2 separate regions of the Homo sapiens genome follow, and region 1 is linked to region 2. The links are contacts of gene promoters, found by promoter capture Hi-C in human tissues and cell types (Jung and others, 2019). All regions are on one chromosome and are shown on one strand. The core of a region is centred on a gene start or on the middle of the fragment in contact, and the rest is flanking DNA. Distances in the headings are between cores, read along the strand shown.

Region 1 (4,080 bases), core at 1,131-3,630, 350 kb before region 2:
GCATAGGATATATTTTTCCATCTTTTGACTTTCAGCTTATGCATGTTCTTAGATCGAAAGTGAGTGTCTTTTAGACAGTATATGCTTGGATCTTCTTTTTAATCTATTTAGCCAGTTTATATCTTTTGACTGGAGTGTTTAATCCATCCACATTTAAAATAATTACTGAGGTGGAAGGACTTACTATTTCCATTTTGTTGTTTTCTGTGTGTCTTACAGCTACTTTATTCCTCTTTTCCCAATAAGCAGACAGAACATAAGAAGTAATGTGAAGCAAGCAATTCACTCTTTTCTTTCCCTCACAAAGTAAAAGTCAGTAGTTGGAGTTTTCTCTGGATCTTGCCACACTGTGTTGGGGAGGGGACATGGCTAGAGCAGGTAATAATGCCACCAATTTTCCTGCACACTTCAATATGTCTCTTCTTGGCTTTGTGCTACAACCTCTTAACTGGTGTTCTTACAAAGTTTCTGAAGTTCTTACAAAAGCAGTTTGGTCATAAATTTTTGTTAAGTGGGTTTCTCTGTGAGGGAATAAGGGCCTGGGTCTTCCTATTCCACCATTTTGCTGACATCACTTTTTAACTAGTGCCTAAATGTTTGATAGAATTCACCAGTGAGGCCATCTGGGTCTGGGCTTTTCTTTGTGAGTAGTTCTTTTAATTTCTATTTTAATCTTATTTTGATATAAATTTATTTAGATCTTCCATTTCATAAGTTTGTGTCTTTCTAGAATTTGTCTATTTCATCTAAGTCATCCTTTGGCATATAGTTGCTCATGGTCCTAATTGTTTTTATTTCTGTAAGGTTGATAGTAATATCCTCCTCTTTCATTTCTCATTTTAGTAATTTGAGACTTCCCTCTTTTTTTCTCAGCCTAGCTAAAGGTTTGTGAATCTTGTCAAAGAACCAACTTTTTATTTCACCTATTTTCTCCATTTTTTTAATTTTCTATTTCATTAATTTCTGCTCTAATCTTTATTGTTTTCTTTCTGCCTGCTTTGTTTGCTCTTCTTTTTCCAGTGTGTTAAAGTAGAAGCTTAGGTTACTGCTTTGAGCTCTTTCTTCTTTTTTTAACATATGTGTTCACAACTATATATTTCCCTTTAAACAATGCTTTCACTGTGTCTCATAAGTCTGGATATATTTTGTCTTCATTCTCATTTATCTCAAAGTAAATTCTCATTTTCCTTGTGATTTCTTCTTTGACCCACTGATTAGAAGTGTGTCAATTTCCATATACTTGTGAATTTCCCAAATTTCTTTCTGTCAATAATTTTTTAATTTCCATCCATCATGATCAGAGAACATGCTTTGCATGATTTCAATCCTCTTAAATTCACTGAGGCTTGTTATATGGCCTAGCACATGGTCTGTCTTGGAGAATATTCCATGTACATTTGAGGAGAATGTGTATTATGTTGCTGATAAGTGTAGTGCTAATTGAATATTTTCTCTAGTATAACATTTTAATTCCTTTAAAAGATTTTTCCACTTTTTTTAGTTATTTTCTTAGTGGTTGCTCTAGGGCTTCCAGTATACATTTTAACTTATCAGAATTTACTTCAAGTTTATATTAAATTAGCTCTAGTGAAATATAGAAATATTACTCCTATATAAGTCTATTCCCTCTTCCCCCCTTTGTGCAATTATTGTTATATATTATCTCTATATATGTTGCAAACCGAATGATATATACATTCTCATTCTTTTGCTTTTAAAACAAGAATTGCAATTAACTAGAGATAGCCTTTGGGGAGGAGTATTTTTCAAGTTAATCAGAGCTTCAAAATGAAGAATGACCACCCAAATTCACAACTTTCCAAACTTCCATTTCAAGAAAACTCATGGACAGGAATATGATCTCTAACACCCAGACTTGATGCACTCTGGTTCCTTGGCTTTATCTGTGCTTAAGCCCACATGTTCCCTTGCATCTTGCCCCCACAGAAGTGCACTCTGCTAGTTCTACAGAAGAAAGTGCTAAAACAGAGAAATAGCGAAAGATGTCCTAGGAAAGGCAGTAAGTGTCACCTCTTGACAGAAGGATCCCTGAGAACAAAACGCATTATTCCATTCATCTCTACCCAAATAGAAAGAAGGTAATGGCCACAAAACAACAACAACCAAAAAAGAAAAAGAAAAAAAAAGGAGAGCAAAAGAGAATATTCATAATTTCATTCCCAAAAAAAAACTCTCCTGAAATCTGTTCTGAGTTGTAAGTTCCCTTCCTCTGGCGCTCTCCTTACCCGAAACGGGGTGTTGATTCGACTCGTGAGAGTGTCTAGGATGTGGACATTCTCGTGCTGGTGCAATAGGATAAAACGGAGGAAGATCTCAAGTAGTGCTGGCTCGGAGATGCTACGCAGGAAAAGGTCCAGATATGCAGTTGTGGTCATGACCTCTTCCACAGTCACCTAGGACAAACAACGGAGTGAGCACAGGTGAGCATCCTTTTGATGCTGTGATACACGCCTCTCCCGTGGCCCCCAGCCTCACCACAGTGACATCATCAAGGCAAGAACATGCCTGCCCACGAAAACACACTTCAGAGCTTTATTGAAGCCCATAACCTATTCACATTCCACAATACCTCATGCTGTTTCCGCCCTTTAATTCAATAAGGAAAAAGAAAGGCATAAAGAATCAATTCAAGTGTTCTGGTAACTCTAATCATCAAATGCAGTTCAAATACCATAAAGATTTTAGAGTGTAATCAAAAATGAAGAAAAAAGATAATGGAAAGTATTTACATGGTTAGTAAAGGATTAATTAGAAAGCCCGGAATAACTTGTTTCTTTATTAGTCATTCAGTAAACATTTATTGGGACCTGTTATGTACGAGGAGCTGAAAACATAACATTCCTTATGTCCAGAAAGATGAGCTATGACAAGCAAAATGATAATATAAATTGCAAAGGAGCAGTACAGACACAAAGTGCTACAGATGTTCCGATGTGTTTCTGGAGAGCTGCATGTCAAATTTTTTATAACTGAATAATACACATAAAATGTTATTTACAAAGTACTATAAGAACTTACTGCTTATAAAGTAACTGCGACTTTTTTATAACAAATTAATATATGCTACCTGGTGTAATTTTCTCATGCAGTAAAATGTCAATTTTTCAGTGAATAAGACTCTGAAGAGCCAAGTTTTTCAAGAAGCCGAGGATTTGATGCTTCAAGTATCAAAATTCTAACCTTAAACATTTTTATTGGGAGTATTTTAAGAGCTAGCATATACATCTTTGTCCTCCTAAGATGAGAATATACCATCTCTTGATGAATAGAGGTCATTCCCAGGGTCATCAATTGCCCCGCAGAAGCATAAAGAAACAGCCACACCTGAATGCGTGAAAACCACCAGAGAAATAGTTCAAACTCTCAGATTCTAATACCACACACCCTAGAAATCTTAGCAATCCCTCCACCATGAGTCAAATGCACTCGATTTTAAACAAAACAGATGGCAATACTTTTTGAGTGATTATTTTCCCTTTTCCATTTTTTAAAATCTTCTTTCATTCTCTTCCTTTAAAAGTGTTAGTTGTCACATTATCTTACGGTTACTGGGCCATTCCTTTTATATTCCATTCCTCTTCCCCTTTTAATTTTCGGCTTTTAAAATCCACAGATTAGTTTAGAAACCAGATGTCCAGATCTGCTACATAAGTGTAGATGAGCCCTGAGTGGATGCATCTGTGCATAAAGGCTTGGAGCTATCTATTTTGGCAGTTTAAATTACTTTTAAAAAGTTATTGGTGCTCAGCTTTCTTCTGGATAGATGAGCCCAGGTGGATAAGATATTACCAAGTCAGTGTGTCTGTTTTCTTTATCTAAGCAAGGCATGCTTATCCAGTGCATTAGTATCTAACGAGAAGTCATTCCACAGTGGTCTGAGTACATATCATAGCGCAAATCCCCTTCCCCTAGCTCGGTGCCAACAATGCAAGTTCTCAGTCATTCAATACACCACTATGTCATCTGACCAACTGTAAAGAGCTCTCTGTGGCCCATATACAGCAACAGAAATAGGCAACCATCAAACATTTAACAAATAAATTGCACTGGGAAGAGTGC
Region 2 (3,749 bases), core at 69-2,568:
AAATACTAGTCAGGGTTTTTTTTTTCTTCTTTTGGGCCACAAACACAACAGGTGTGGTTCAACCACACCTGTAGTCCCAGCTACTAGGGAGGCTGAGTGGGAGGATTGCTTGAACCCAGGAGTCTGAGGTTGCAGTGGGCTATGATTGCACCACTGCACTCTAACCTGGGTGACAGAGTGAGACTCTGTCTCTTAAAAAAAAAATGCTCTATGAAGATTCAAATTTAGCTTTTACTTGATTCAAGGTCACCATCAGGAATATGAAGTATGTTAGTTTATAAATACAATGATGCCCTCAGATGCGGTTGAGGTTGCAAGCTGTTTACTTTTGTGCTATTTGGTTTAACTGAATTGGCATTTTGCAGTATTTGTGTATCTTTCTTCTTTGCTACCTGTTAAGTTTTTTGCTCTCTCAGCATACCCTTTCTGTTTTTTGGGGGGACGGGGTCTTACTCTGTCGCTAAGGCTGGAGTGCAGTGGCGCTATCTCGGCTTACTGCAACCTCCACTTTCCAGGCTCAAGCACTTCTCCTGCCTCAGTCTATTGAGTAGCTGGGACTACAGGTGCCCGCCACCACGCCCGGCTAATTTTTGTATTTTTTGTAGAGATGGGGTTTCACCATGTTGCCCAGGCTGGTCTTGAACTCCTGATCTCAGGTGATCTGCCCGCCTTGGCATCCCAAAGTGCTGGGATTACAGGCGTGAGCTGCTGTGCCTGGCCAGTATACCCTTCCTTTAAATCCCTGTGGACCAGAAAAATAAATGAACAAGCATATACCTGAAATCATAGAATAGTGTTTGCTCTTCCAGTTCCCTCTGCTTGAGATGCTCTTTTCCTGGATCCTCTTACTTAATTTAGTTATCCCCTTCAGTTCTGCTCAAATGACTCCTTCTTAGTGAGGCCTTCTTTAACTACCCTTCTAAAGATTGCAACACTCCTGCCCCTGTACTTCAGATGCCCCTTTCCTTTCATAGTACTTATTACCTTCTAACAAGCCTTATAATTTACACATTTAATATGTGCATTGATTATAAGTCCCACGAAGATAGGGATCTTGTGGGTGTGTGTGTGTACTGCTATTTCCAATCGGGAGCATTGGAATGGTGCTGGGTATATAGTAGCCTCTCAGGACCTTCTCAGGCTGTGCTACTCATAACTAACATCCCATGGGTGAAGTGTCACATTGTTCTATGTGATGCCCTCTTTAGTAAAAATCCTCTGCCTCTGCCTTCTCAACCCCACCCTGGCGCTCACCTGAGATCCCCAGCAGAAGGAGCAGCGTGAAGGCACAGCCAGCAGGGCCCATGTCTCTGTCCTCAGAGCCAGTGAGCGCTTCCTGCTTCCTGGACTCAGGCTCCCAGGAAGAGGCCAATGGGGAGCTGCCAGAACTAGCTTCTCCTAGATGGATTCCTCTGCTTCACCCCCTCCTCTCCTTTGGTCTTCACCCGCTGCCAGATCCTGAAGGGACCAGACTTCAGAAGTGCAGCTGCAGGACCCAGGGGAGGAACTGGGGTCTGTGGCGCCCCCTGCTGTCCTGGGAGAGCAGGGTTTCTGGGGTTTCTGCCTGTGGTGTTGAGGAGTGGCTGGTTGAGGGCACTGGAAGAAACAGGACCCTGTCTCTAGCAAGGAGATAGAAGGTGGACAGGATTCTCCAAAAGCAAGAAATGGAAAAGAGGAAATGAACCCAGTATCTGGTTAATTTTTCTGAGTTTTTTTGTTTGTTTGTTTTCATTTCTGTTACAGTGTTAGCTGCACTGCAAGTCAAGTTTCCTGGGAAACAGACTCTAAGACAGAGATTTGTGTGCAGGAAATTTATTTTAGAGTGGTCTCAGGATCAGCAGCTCTTGGGTGGGTAGTAGGATTGGTTAGAGGGAGAGTTGAACTGTGATGCGTTTGCAACAGAGGCCACAGCCTATCTCACAAGTTTCTCTGGAGCTGAGGTGGCCCTCAGAGACTTTCTGTACTGAGCTAAGAAGGATGCGTTCTTAGGGGTCTGCATCATTGGATGCAGGCCACCTCCTAGGAGGGGGCATTACCTTGGGTGAGGTGGCTCTGTTGGCAGTTCTTGGAATAAGACTTAGCTGTGAACTGTCAGCAGCCAACACTCCTAGCTGCTAAGGGAATGAATGCTTCAGTTCTAAAGGGGGGTCTGGATGGTACACCACAACATCTACCTCAGAAATCTTCACTCTGCCTTTTGTTTTCTGTGCCAATTGTTTGTAGGGTGCTAGGTCTGTGGAGGCAGAATTCAATGAACTATTAAAATGTTACTGCTCTCTTGCAACTTAAAATATTGGGATGCTTGAAAGAAACATATAAGCAGTTTAAAACTAATAGGCCAGGCACGGTGGCTCATGCCTGTAATCCCAGCACTTTGGGAGGCCGAGGCGGGTGGATCACCTGAGGTCAGGAGTTTGAGACCATCCTGGCCAACATGGTGAAATCCCGTCTCTACTAAAAATACAAAAATTAGCTGGGTGTAGTGGCGTGCACCTGTAGTCACAGCTACTCGGGAGGCTGAGGCAGGAGAATCGCTTGAACCCGGGAGGCGGAGGTTGCAGTGAGCCAAGATGGCGCCACTGCACTCCAGCCTGGGCGACAGAGCGAGACTCCGTCTAAAAAAAAAAAAATAATAATAATAATAATAATAATAGAAGTGGCTGGGCGTGGTAGCTTACGCCTATTATCCCAGCACTTTGAAAGGCTGAACGGGGAGGATCCCTTGAGACCAGGAGTTTGAGATCAGCCTGGGCAATACAGTGAGACCCTATATCTACAAAAATTTAAAAATTAGCCTGGTGTAGTGATGTGCACCTGAAGTCCCCAGCTACTCGGGAGGCTGAGGCAGGAGGATCACTTGAAGTCAGTAGTTCAAGGCTACATGAGCTATGACTGTACCACTGTGCTCCAGCTTGGGCGACGGAAAGAACCTGTCTCAAATAATAATGGAAGACCAGAAAATGTAGATATTTTGGTAAGAACTATTCAGTTACAGGCAACTGAGGCTCACTTAAGCTAGCTTAAATCAAGAGGAGATTATTTTAAAGCTATTGTTTTGAGCTGAATTATGTCTCCTCAAAAATGTATCTTGAGGCTGGGCATGGTGGCTCACGCCTGTAATCCCAGCACTCTGGGAGGCCGAGGCGGGTGGGTCACGAGGTCAGGAGATCGAGACCATCCTGGCTAACACAGTGAAAACCCGTCTCTACTAAAAAATACAAAAAATTAGCCGGGTGTAGTGGCGAGTGCCTGTAGTCCCAGCCACTTGGGAGGCTGAGGCAGGAGAATGGCGTGAACCCTGGAGGCAGAGCTTGCAGTGAGCCGAGATCGCGCCACTGCACTCCAGCCTGGGCGACAGAGCAAGATTCCGTCTCAAAAAAAAAAAAACGTATCTTGAAGTCCTAACCGCACTTCCATACTTCAGAGTATGACAATATTTGGAGATAAGGTCTTTAAAGAGGTAATTATATTAAAAAGAGGTCATTAGGTTGGGTTCTAATCTCATATGAGTGATGTCCTTAGAAGAGGAAATGTCATGTACGTGACATCTATAGAGGGAGAAGACAGCTATTTACAAGCCTAGGGTGCCTGAAACAAATCCTTCCCTCATGGCCCTCAGAAAGAACCAGCCATGCTGATACCTTGATCTTGGACTTCCAGCCTCCAGAACTGTGAGGAAATAAATTTCTGTTGGTTAAGTTCGTCTAGTCTGTGGTACTTTGTTACAGCAGCCCTAGCAAACTTATGTA

The links. The method cuts DNA at HindIII sites, captures the fragments that hold promoters and counts their contacts. A contact is called where the count stands out against the background at its distance.
Region 1: a fragment that was not itself captured here is called in contact with the fragment with the promoter of PRSS48 in region 2 in 1 of the 25 tissues and cell types used here (small bowel).

The regions. Positions count from the first base shown.
Region 1 is chr4:151,628,036-151,632,115 of GRCh38, reverse strand. FHIP1A (FHF complex subunit HOOK interacting protein 1A) reads right to left here. Exons shown (of 14, transcript NM_001109977.3): 8 at 2,247-2,414. Among named protein-coding and RNA genes, the nearest start is that of GATB, 130 kb to the left of the region's middle. The HindIII fragment of the contact is 5,480 bases long and covers 1-4,080 here.
Region 2 is chr4:151,274,730-151,278,478 of GRCh38, reverse strand. It overlaps PRSS48 (serine protease 48), which reads right to left and starts at 1,318. Exons shown (of 5, transcript NM_183375.5): 1 at 1,255-1,318. The coding sequence starts at 1,306. The region is part of intron 1 of SH3D19 (SH3 domain containing 19); the gene reads left to right. It overlaps LOC124900799 (a long non-coding RNA gene), which reads left to right and starts at 3,321. Exons shown (of 2, transcript XR_007058328.1): 1 at 3,321-3,749. The HindIII fragment of the contact is 14,422 bases long and covers 1-3,749 here.